Regions from separate parts of the Homo sapiens genome. Here regions 1, 2 and 4 are each linked to region 3. The links are contacts of gene promoters, found by promoter capture Hi-C in blood cells and fetal thymus (Javierre and others, 2016). All regions are on one chromosome and are shown on one strand. The core of a region is centred on a gene start or on the middle of the fragment in contact, and the rest is flanking DNA. Distances in the headings are between cores, read along the strand shown.

The links. The method cuts DNA at HindIII sites, captures the fragments that hold promoters and counts their contacts. A CHiCAGO score of 5 or more calls a contact.
Region 1: a fragment that was not itself captured here is called in contact with the fragment with the promoter of ARHGAP36 in region 3 in 1 of 17 cell types (M2 macrophages); the score reaches 5.5 in M2 macrophages.
Region 2: a contact is called between a fragment that was not itself captured here and the fragment with the promoter of ARHGAP36 in region 3, in 4 of 17 cell types (M1 macrophages, M0 macrophages, endothelial precursors and 1 more). The highest score is 5.7, in M1 macrophages.
Region 4: a contact is called between a fragment that was not itself captured here and the fragment with the promoter of ARHGAP36 in region 3, in 2 of 17 cell types (M2 macrophages and endothelial precursors). The highest score is 6.8, in M2 macrophages.

What each region holds. Positions count from the first base shown.
Region 1 is chrX:131,669,779-131,672,547 of GRCh38, reverse strand. No RefSeq gene overlaps it. Among named protein-coding and RNA genes, the nearest start is that of OR13H1, 130 kb to the right of the region's middle. The HindIII fragment of the contact is 2,349 bases long and covers 149-2,497 here.
Region 2 is chrX:131,591,588-131,594,287 of GRCh38, reverse strand. The region is part of intron 1 of LOC124905218 (a long non-coding RNA gene); the gene reads right to left. Among named protein-coding and RNA genes, the nearest start is that of OR13H1, 49 kb to the right of the region's middle. The HindIII fragment of the contact is 245 bases long and covers 1,189-1,433 here.
Region 3 is chrX:131,057,068-131,059,767 of GRCh38, reverse strand. It overlaps ARHGAP36 (Rho GTPase activating protein 36), which reads right to left and starts at 1,422. Exons shown (of 12, transcript NM_144967.4): 1 at 1,324-1,422. It overlaps LINC01201 (long intergenic non-protein coding RNA 1201), which reads left to right and starts at 1,622. Exons shown (of 3, transcript NR_126350.1): 1 at 1,622-1,721. RefSeq lists enhancers at 764-1,416, 1,417-2,070. The HindIII fragment of the contact is 6,523 bases long and covers 1-2,700 here.
Region 4 is chrX:131,617,625-131,620,422 of GRCh38, reverse strand. It overlaps the pseudogene OR2AF1P. Among named protein-coding and RNA genes, the nearest start is that of OR13H1, 75 kb to the right of the region's middle. The HindIII fragment of the contact is 1,392 bases long and covers 714-2,105 here.

The sequences.
Region 1 (2,769 bases), core at 74-2,573, 610 kb before region 3:
GGTAGATATAAAAGTAGAAAGGAGAGGGATGCATCTAGGAACAATCTTCAGGCTTGTGACCTATGGAAATGTAATATGGTGTTGATGATCAAGAGACATAGTGTGACTTTGCCTGACTTTTTGAGAAAACAGAGATTGAAGCAAAGCTTTGTGCTAAGGGTTTATTGAGGGCTGCAATTACAGAGCAGTTTGGACAGAAAATGGCAATGTGGCAAGGGATGAGATAGAAAATATAAAGTAGCACATTACAGAGATTTCTACAGCTTCATGAGAAAACATAGTTGGCTGCTCCGTCGCCTTGGATATGTCTAGATAAGCACTGTGAAACCACCATACCTTGGTTCAGCTGATTAACTCTCTTGAACTTCCAGATTGTTTCACCTCACCATTTCCAGTAATCCACGGAAAGTCACATCCTGCAGTGTATGGAATGGCACTTCATTTGAGGCTGGAAGAAGTGGAAAAGCCAGACCTTGTGCTGAAGCTGCATAAAGAAGGATCTGCTGGAGGGAGTTTGGATCTCAGCCCAGGAGAGGCCATGAGCGTTGTTGATATTTGGAGACAAAGTGATAGTGGTGACAGCCAGACATCTCTTTTGAGCAAGCAGCCAAGGGTCTGGCAGGCCAAGGACTCCTCTTGTGTAAACAGAATAGGGGTATAAATTCAGGCTGACGCAGTCTACCCCTTGATACAATAATTTGGAGCCATCATTTTATGAGAACAACATGTCCTCATTTCTTTTCTTGGATGAAGAAGCAATCCTTCAAATTGGTGGCCAGTTACACTCTCCTAAAAAGGCTTATTGAATGAGGATTATTATGCCAACATAAAGTTCCTGTTACTATACTGTGTCCCAGAACCATATTGTTTACATATTTATATTTATTTTTTATTTTTATTTTTTAAAATTTACTTTAAGTTCTGGGATACATGTGCAGAATGTGCAGGTTTGTTACATAGGTATACATGTGCCATGGTGGTTTGCTGCACCCATCAACCTGTCATCTAGGTTTTAAGCCCCACATGCATTAGGTATTTGTCCTAATGCTCTCCCTCCTCTTGCCCCCCACCCCGCTACAGGCCCCGGTGTGTGATGTTCCCCTTCCTGTGTCCATGTGTTCTCATTGCAGCACCATAGTTTATATTACTCATCTCCCTCTACAACCACCATTTTTTTTTTTTTTGACGGAGTTTTGCTTTTGTTGCCCAGGCTGGAATGCAATGGCACGATCTCGGCTCACCGCAACCTCCGCCTCCCAGGTTCAAGCAATTCTCCTGCCTCAGTCTCGGTCATGTGCCACCATGCCTGGCTAATTTTTGTATTTTCAGTAGAGACAGGGTTTCTCCATGTTGGCCAGGCTGGTCTTGAACTCTTGACCTCAGGTGATCCGCCCGCCTCAGCCTCCCAAAGTGCTGGGATTACAGGCATGAGCCACCACGCCCGGCTACAACTACCATTTTTATGCTTTCCTCACAATTAGCTAACACCTTGGCTAATTTAGGTTACTTGTCTAGTGGGATCATCCCAGAAGGGTTTAAACATTCAGTTGCCTATCTCTTTTTGGGCCATGGTTGGTGAAATTGGATGTTCACAGTTATCACCGAAAATAGACGCACTAAGAAATGCTTCAGTGAATCCCCTGAGTTTCAAACATAATCCTCCCTATCTCTGTATGTAGCAGCAACTTTAACTGCTGACAGAAATGAGGGTGAGTACCTCTGTAAATATAGGAATTTTTCTTTGCTTGTTATTCCACAGGCATCAGGAGCTCAAAGTTGCAAGATAGTGATAGAGGCTTCTGGTTCATTGAAGCATTTACTGTGTCATCAGGTGGAAGTGCACCTCCCACTCTTCCTTTGTTTGTTTGTTTGAGACGGAGTCTTGTTCTTTTGCCCAGGCTGGAGTGCAGTGGTACGATCTCGGCTCATTGCAATCTCCACCTCCTGAGTTCAAGCGATTCTTCTGCTTCAGCCGCCCGAGTAGCTGGGATTACAGGTGGACACCACCACACCCGGCTAATTTTTGTATTTTTAGTAGAGACAGGGTTTCGCCATGTTGGCCAGGCTTGTCTTGAACTCCTGATCTCAGGTGATCTGCCCGCCTCAGCCTCCCAAAGTGCTGGGATTACAGGCATGAGCCACTGCGCCCGTCCTGGACCTCTCACTCTTAAAACCAGTATCTCAAATCCACCATAGCCTATGTTTGCAGGAATGAGGAAGCCCAAATTCCACAAGTGGGTCACTGCAGTGACAATCATTGGGGTTATACGGACCTCAATTTTTTAGCTATGCGGGAAAACACCATATATATGCTACAGTTTTGGTAATTATACTACATCACAAGATATTATGACTGAGCTGGTACCTTAACTAAGACTTCAACACATCAGTCCACCATTCTTTTTTTTTTTTTTTAAATGTACCCTTCCCCTAATGGCCTTTTTTTATTTGTTTATTTTAATGTATTTAATCTGTGCCAAGAGAAAGCTATAAAGCTTTTCTATTCTCTGAAATTTTTTTTTTCCATTTCTAGGGAGCCTAGAATAGGTATTGTTCCTTAAAATTTTTTTTAAATTATACTTTAAGTTTTAGGGTACATGTGCACATTGTGCAGGTTAGTTACATATGTATACATGTGCCATGCTGGTGTGCTGCACCCACTAACTCGTCATCTAGCATTAGGTATATCTCCCAATGCTATCCCTCCCCCCTCCCCCCACCCCACAACAGTCCCCAGAGTGTGATATTCCCCTTCCTGTGTCCATGTGA
Region 2 (2,700 bases), core at 62-2,561, 530 kb before region 3:
AATGGGCAAAGAGAAAAGAGAGCATGAATATCAAGTACAAGGTACAAAAGAGAGTAACATTTCTGGTGTGGTATAGGGAGCGTAGAATTAGGACTGAGAAAAAGTTAAAGGGAGGCAGAGTTCAGCTGAGTAGGAGACAAGTTTTCTGTCTAGATAGCTAGATTTATCTGACAATTACGGGATAGGCAGTTCCATGAATTAGTGAGCTAACTCCTTCAGTGATACAACATTTAATTTCAGTCTGATCAGCAGTAAAATAGAGGGGTCTCCTGTATTGGACCACAGGCTGAACTAGGCCCACTCTGTTCAGCTGTAAGAGTTATCATGCCATCATAGGGAAAAAGAGGCAAAGAGACACAGGGGCATAGAGAAGGCAGGACAGAGAAGAGGCAGATCTAGAAGAAGAGAACCAGGATAATATGGAGGAAGCAGAGTAAGCAAAGAGATGGAAAGAGAGAGAAAAAACCATGCTTATCCAACGGAAGGTAGGACATTGCTTAAGGAATTTTCTCTCTTTACCAAATTTCTAAAAATGATTACCCTCATTAATTAACTCCATTTACACACTCCCTGTTAACTTCTCAATCCCTTGCTTGTTTCTGTCACACAACTGAACTTATTAGAAAGTAACCCAATGTACTACTAATGACCAAATCCAATGTTCTTTTTCAGTCTTTGATTCATTTCATCTAACACTACTTACTACCTTCACTTCTTGAATATTTTTCTTCTTTTGTCTTCTAAGATTCATTTTCGCTTTATGTACTTCTCACCTCTGCTTATTCTTTTACTGTAAATTGTATACTTTACTGTAAAATCACCAAGGTTCAGTGACTTTTGCTACTGCACTCTCTCTTCAGTATGGCTCTTCTACGCCATCCCCATGAAAGAGTCACTTGTCAGTTCCCTCTTTCTTCTAACTTCTAAATGTATGTATTTCTAAGTTTTCAGTGGCATTCAAGATAAGCTAGCTTACTCTATAGCAACAAACAGCCCCTAAACTTTGAGGGGCTTGAAACAACAAAGGTTTAATTCTTGCTCATGCTACATAGTAATGACATTTGTCTCCGCTCATTGAAGTGACCCAAGGACCCAGACTGAATAGGGGATTCTTCTTGACACCTGCTTTAATGATTGCTGAAGCAGGATAAAAGAAGCACAGTGAATTCTGTATGGCTTCTTCAAGCTTTTGCCTGGATGTGAATAAGTCACTTTTACTGACATTTAGTTGGCAAAAGCAATCACATGGCAATGTTGTTATGTACCTGGAAGGAGGTGAGAACTGGAGTACCTGTAACAGGCTCTAATGACCACCATGTATTTCTTACTAATTTCTGTAACTTTACTCTTTCCATAGATGGTCATATCTGACCTCTCATATATAATTAAACTTATATCTGAGTCTAATTCTTATACTCATGTCTCCCAAAGCTTATAACTAGAGGTCAGACATCTTCTTTAGCTCATGAATCACGTGTTTATTTGGCTTCCCAACCCCAGATTGTTGGAAACTAAATTAAAATAAACTTGTCACCATTCCATTTAAAACTATCATTGCTACTTCCCTATTCCTGCTAATGGCACCTCAATTTTCCCAATAAACCAGGTTGGAAAACATTGTCATCATCCCTCCTTTCTACAATTTCCCATATTAGTCAGTAAGGTTCAGTGATTTTTGCCACTGCACTGTCTCTTCGCTATGGCTCCTCTGCTCCATTCCCATTGTAGATTTCCTTGTCAAAGTCTTCTGTGTGTCTTTTGCAAGGATTTTCAAAATAGGCTCCAAACTAGTTTTTTACCCCTTTCATCTGCCCTGGACATTTTTGCCAGAGTAATCTTATGTTTTCATTATACTACTCCCCTATCCAAAACCTCTGTTTCATTGTCAACTGCCTGTAAAAACAAGTCATGACTTCTTAGCCTGACATTTGGTACTCTTCATGTCCTGTCTTCAACCTAATTTCCTATGGGTTGTCTTCACTGATCCTTGGTTTTCCCTTCATTTTTTTTACTCCCTATGATGCATATGCCCAATGTCCCATGCATATTTAGGGTGACCAATCATCCCTGTTTGCACAGGACTAAGAAGTTTTCCAGGATACAGCACTTTCAGTGCTAAAACCTGGGAAATCCCTGGCAAGCTAGGATGCATTGTTCTCCCTACATATTCCATTCCCACCATTCCTCAAACATGCCACGTTTTATGACTTTTCTCAAATCCCTCTGACAAGAATGACTACCTACCTTTATTCTATTAAAATTCTAGCCATTCTTTGTCTTTGCTTAATCTCCTCAAGATGCCCTTCTCCCGAGTCAGAATTAATATCTTTCACCAATGTTCTTTCACAGTATTTTGTTTTTCTTTTCCCCTCTGTTAGAGCACATGCCACTTTCATCATTAAATTGTAGTTAATTCCATATAAAAAGTACATATTTATCTGCCTCTCTAGACTGTTAGTTCTTTGAGGGCAGGAACCCTGTATCATTTATCTCCTTATATGGCACAATGTTCCGTTCATAGGAGGCACTAATAAATACTTGTTTGATGGAAATTATGACGCAAAGAGAAGGATCAGGGCAATAAAGGAAAGAAACATGAGCACAGAGCGGGTACAGAGGGAGGCAGAGAGCGGAGATAAAAAGATCACATGCGTGTCCAGTTCTTTTTTCCTGCAGTGATTCCAGATCTTTTCTTTTCCC
Region 3 (2,700 bases), core at 173-2,672:
AAAACTCCCTTATATTTTTGATTCACCAGGATCATATAAACCTTAAAAATATGCAAAAGAAAAAATTAAACTCTGTGTGTATGCAGATCTTTTTCCTTCTCAGAGATCTTGTTGCTGGCCTGAGGCTGTACTTGAACTGCCTAAGCAAGCTGTAGTCTTTCAGCAGGAGGTCAAACTCCTGGGATGGTTCTCAGCAGGGTGTTGGGGCTGGCAAGAACTAAAAACAGGTCTCTGCTGAATTAAGTTGCTGAGGCCCCTCCTTTCCCTGCTTCCCCTCCCCCGCCTGTGAAGGGACAGAGGAAAGAGGAGACAACCCCAGGTTTGGTCTATGGCTGGTGCCCAATGACGCACTCTCACCAATATAGATTTTGGAGGTGGAGACTATGAAAAAACAGGTGGCTGTGGGGGCAGGTGGCAGCCTGAAGGGGGTGGGGCTTATTATCAAGGGGGAGTGAAGGACAGTGTGGGTGGGGGTCCTGGGGTATGTCAAAAAGAAAATATCAGTCTCCTGAAACTTTAAGGATGAAAATATAATCAGTTGTCAAAATGTACTTTGTAGAAGCAGTTCCCGAAAAGGGGTGAAATGTGACCCACATATGCCGGTGCTGTGATCTTTGCACACTTGTGTCCTCAATTCCACAGAAATAGGGAAACCAAGCATTGATCTCAAGTACCCAAGGAAAGAACCCGACTAAAGACCGCAGGGGTCCACTACTGGGCAGTCTGGGGCAGTGGGCAGCTGGCAGAGCCTAAGCTGACCCAGGTATGCTGCCAACCTGTTGGGTAACCTTGGGCAGGCTTTTCCCATCTTCAGTGTCATCATCTCTTAAATGAAGGGGTTAAATTCGACGACTCTAGGGGGTCCATTGCTGATATTCTGTGTTTGAGATTGAGACAAGGGGACGAACTTCAAGGCAAAATGAATACCCGCCTCCTTCAGGGTCCCTGGGGCCTGGCTTGCCCTGTCAGGGACATTCATCCTTGGGCCTTGAGGGTCCTTGAGTTGCGGGACGCCGCTCCTGCGCGTCTGGCCCCAAGGCTCTGGCTGTCCCTGCCGGCGGCTGAGCCAGCGACTCCGCCCACGCGCTCGTCCCGCGTACCGCCGAGCCATTAGCGCGATTGCTCGCGGTTCCCGGCAAAGCTGGTGATTTATGCGGGGCCTCGACGGGGCAGTCCCTTGAGCCAGGAACAATTAGCTAAAAGCCAGCAGGAAGGGAGGCAAGGGGGCGACCAGCCAAGCCCCAGGGCGCCCAGAGGGGGCTGCAGCCGCCGGCCGCCCCCGGCCGAGCACCCCAGCCCCCCGACTCGGTGGGCCCCACTCACCACGGCGGGGGCGGGGCTCAAAGGCCGAGGCGAAAAGGCAGTCCAGTATCCACGCCATGACCCGCGCTGAGTGCCCGGCAGCTCGCAGTTAACCTTTGCGTCGTCCCCCGCACCGGCGGCCCTAAGTAGCCCCCGGTGACCACGCCCTGAGCCGCACCCTGCACCCAGCTAAGAGTGTTTCGGTCACCGGACACCTCGAGCATGTCACGAAGGGGGCAGGGCCTCCGGGGAACCCCCCCTCCTGCCAGAAGAGAGGCCGCTGGTCCCGCAGCCCCTTGCCCCACGCGAAGGGAGGCAGAGACACACAGCTCCTGTCCTGGGAAGCTGATTCTGAGGGCGGGACCCTGCCCCTACCCCAGGGAGCCCAGAGTCTGAGGGGAGACGCCATCTCAGCCCTGGTGAGCCCCAAATCTGAGAGGGAGGGAAGGTCCTTGTCCCCCAGCCCCACCCCAGGAGCCCTTGATCGGGCACATAAAAGCAGGCCTGCCCCCAAAGGCTGGAATTTGAAGGCGAGGTAGCGCACCTGTCCCAGGGAGCCTCAGATCTGAGAGCGAGACAGTATCCCAGGCTCTAGAAAACTCCACGATTTAGCGGAGCGTTATCTCAGCCCTCAAGAGGCCTAGTCTAAGCGGGAAGCAGTGTGTTCCCCAGGATCCCTGAATCTAAAGGGGAGATGCTGTCTCAGCCCTTGGGGACCCTCCCACCCCCACCCTTAACCCCTCTCTTAGGGCAGGCATCACCTCAGCCCCGAGTAGCTCCAAGTCTGATTTAAATCACTGGTCCGTTCTAGAGGACCAAGAATGTGAGCAGGAAAAACGATTTTGCCGCCTCCCCCAAGAAGTCCCATATCTGAGAGTAATCTTACTTCCCTTCTCCTGCGAATTCCGCAGCGAAGAGGGAGATGCTCTCCTGCCTGGGAACCTTTGTACTGAGGGGGTTGATCATCAACTGAGATAAAAGAACCCAGTGTCAAGTATGTATAAACGTGGGGTGCCCCCCAGTTGCTGCCGACTTACAGATTCCACTGCCAATGCTTTTGCTCAGGGCACTGATATGGGAGGGGGACCCACATTTATTTTTAGAAAGAATTTGATATTTGATATTTCAATGGAGGGTGGTACTGTGTTGGATTTTCTTACACTTCTTTTATGGCTTTGTATTTTTACGTTTTAAATACATATGGAAGCACGTGCCATAATGGGTTCAGTGTTTGGGGCCTCTGGTGGTGGTAAAAAGAGCCCTGCCCCCCAAATCCTGGGGTAGAAGCAGCCACCAGAGATGGACCACATTAGGCAGGAAGGGCTTCTAAACGAAATTTCCTTTTTACTTCAAGCCCAGGGGCCCAAATTAATTTCTCTCCCAATTCGCCAGTGGTAG
Region 4 (2,798 bases), core at 160-2,659, 560 kb before region 3:
GGGCCATTTGTCCATTAGGTTCAAATTGGTGTACACACCTATAAAATGTGTTATGAGAGGCAAATGCTGTATTGTGGTTGTATAACCACTGTCTTGTATATGAATTTTTCCCACTTTGTGTGGCAAGTACAAAGATGTTTGGTTACAAAAATCTTATGGCTTATACCCAAGAGAAAGGGCTCTCCCTGATAGGCTACTATGGCTGTTGCGCCTGCCTCCACATACCTACTACCATTATTCTCTCTGTGAACTACTTTGGGCACATTCATGGCTTTAGGTCTTAATGTGGGGCTTGACAAAGTGTTAATATTTATGGTAAATTTTGTGATAATATTTATGGTAAATTGTTAATGAATGCCTAGTGGGGACCATGGAAAGAATGCTCACTAAAATTTTGTTGTTTGCTTTAAAGAAATATAAATTGAAATAATAGGCCAAGTTTTCACTGTTTTTCCTGCACTTTGGAGACGTTTAAAGAGAACTGTTAGGATTTTTCATTTCCTTTGGCTAACTTTCTAAGTGCACCTTTTATATCCTTATTTCTCTGAATGTAAATTGGGGGATTTAACATGGGAGTAACTGCTCCATAAAGTTTTGAGACAACTTTATCCTCTTCCTGGGTTCCCTTTGACTGAGGTTTCAAGTACATGCAGATGGCTGCCCCATAAAATATGGTGACTCCAGTCAGATGAGATCCACAGGTGGAGAAAGCTTCACGCCTAGCCTCCACAGCACAACAAAAATGCAAAATTAGGAGATGAGGATGAATGTGAAGGGCAGGGGCAGTGTGAACACACTGATAACCAGACCCTGAATCAGGCTGACAAGGGTGTCTGAGCAGACGAGCTTCAGCAGGGCCTGGATCTCAAGGTAAAATGGTTGATGACATTGTGTCCATAATAACTAGCAGGAATTGCAATGATTAGTGTGACTGCTACTAAGAAGGCATGGGTCCAGATTCCCAAGGCCAACTGTATACAGACCCGATTGCTCATAATAATAGTGTAATGGAGGAGATAAGAGATTTCAACAAACCTGTTGTAAGCCATGCCAGCAAGGAGGAGACACTGTCATCCCCAGAAAGAGGTGTGTGATCATCTGAACAGAACAGCTGTTATAGGAGATGGTGGGGAAGTCCTTGATGCATTGAGCCAAGACTTATAGCTCCCAGCTGATGGAGTAACACATTTCAAGGGAGGATAAGGTACTGAGGAAAAAAAAATCCCATAGGAGTATGAAGTCGAGAATCTCATCTCACTACAGCAACGATAAGGATGTTCTCAAACGCTGTGACTAGTAGAAAAACAGTAGTTCCAAGAAGAAGGCAGTCTGGATTTCAGGGTGTTGGGCAAATCCAACAAGGATGAGTTCAGTCATCTCAGAGGCATTGTCTCTTTTTAGACCACCCATTTACTTGTCTCAAGTGTTGGGAAAAGAGACAAAACAATGTCATCTACATGAAGAAAGAAGAGGAAGAGCATCTCAGTAGCCTGTTATAGTTCATGTTCTGGAGCTCTAATTAATTGCTGTATGCCATTTATTTTACTGGGTTAGGTTCAACTGTTCAAGTATCCAGTGGTGGAAATATATGTTCTCTTTGCTTTTCTGTCTTATAGAAACTTATATGACCTAGGACAGACTGATTTAGTTGAATGGACTGTTAAAACCCAAATAGAGGTACTTACATTGACATTGAGTCAAATAGAATTATTACTCTCATAAAGGGGTTTAGCTACATGATTGATTTTACCCTTGACCAAAAAAAGGGCAAATAAGCTACATCTGCCCAATAAAAATGTTTTCCAGCTTTATTTAAGTTGATTCACCTCTTTAATAATAATTTTTAAATTTAAACTCAAGGATACACTTTTGAATGCTTGAAATACTTCTTTACTTTTCAACCCTCTTTTCCCCTTATATGTCATATTAGAACCACCTATATATGGTGAATTAGAAAGTGTATATGTAGCTAAACCATCTAGTCAATTCAATGGAAAAACACCAGTAGCCAAATTGACATGCAATAAACCAAACAATTGGTGGATTTGCTGAAATCTTACTCTTTGCTCAATTGTTCTGACATCTATCTTCGGCTGACAGAAGCTTACTATGTGCAGATCCTATCATCTCCATATAGTTTCGAACAAGAGCTTAAAGGGTGATGGGGATATCTTAATAGATAAAAGGATTTCATGCGGAAAACAGTTACTAGCAATTGTGAAAAGGGACAAGGCAAATTTTGAATGCATGTTTCCAGGATTTTTCAATAAGAAAAGACAGAGCCTTTTCAGTTTTACATGGTTTTAGTAGGGAGTGAAAGATATGACCAATTGAAGTGTCTGTTGGCTTTAGAATTTTCGTATTTAGACACAGCGTCAATCTCACCATATTGTATAGTTATATTAGTGCCGTATATAATTGTGTAATTCTTTATAACTTTATAACTAAAAGGCAAACTGTTGACATACAGAAAGAAAGCAAGGGTGCCAGCTGGACCTAAGCTTAACTTTTGGTTTAGCCACTAAAACCTGCACAGTCTTGAGAAAGTCAGTTTTCTCATATGTGAAATGGGAATACCACCCAGCCTCTTGCAGGATTGTTCCAAGAATTAGATAAGATAATTTCTACAAATAAATAAATAAGTAAATGTGCCCGGCACATTTATAGCCACCCAAGATACCTTAACTCCTGCTTTCATGCCCCATGTAGACCTTCCCTACAGTTTGGACTTCATTTTGTAAACATGTGCCAAAATGTCATTCCATCCTACCTTTCCTTGTGAGGTTATCACATTACCA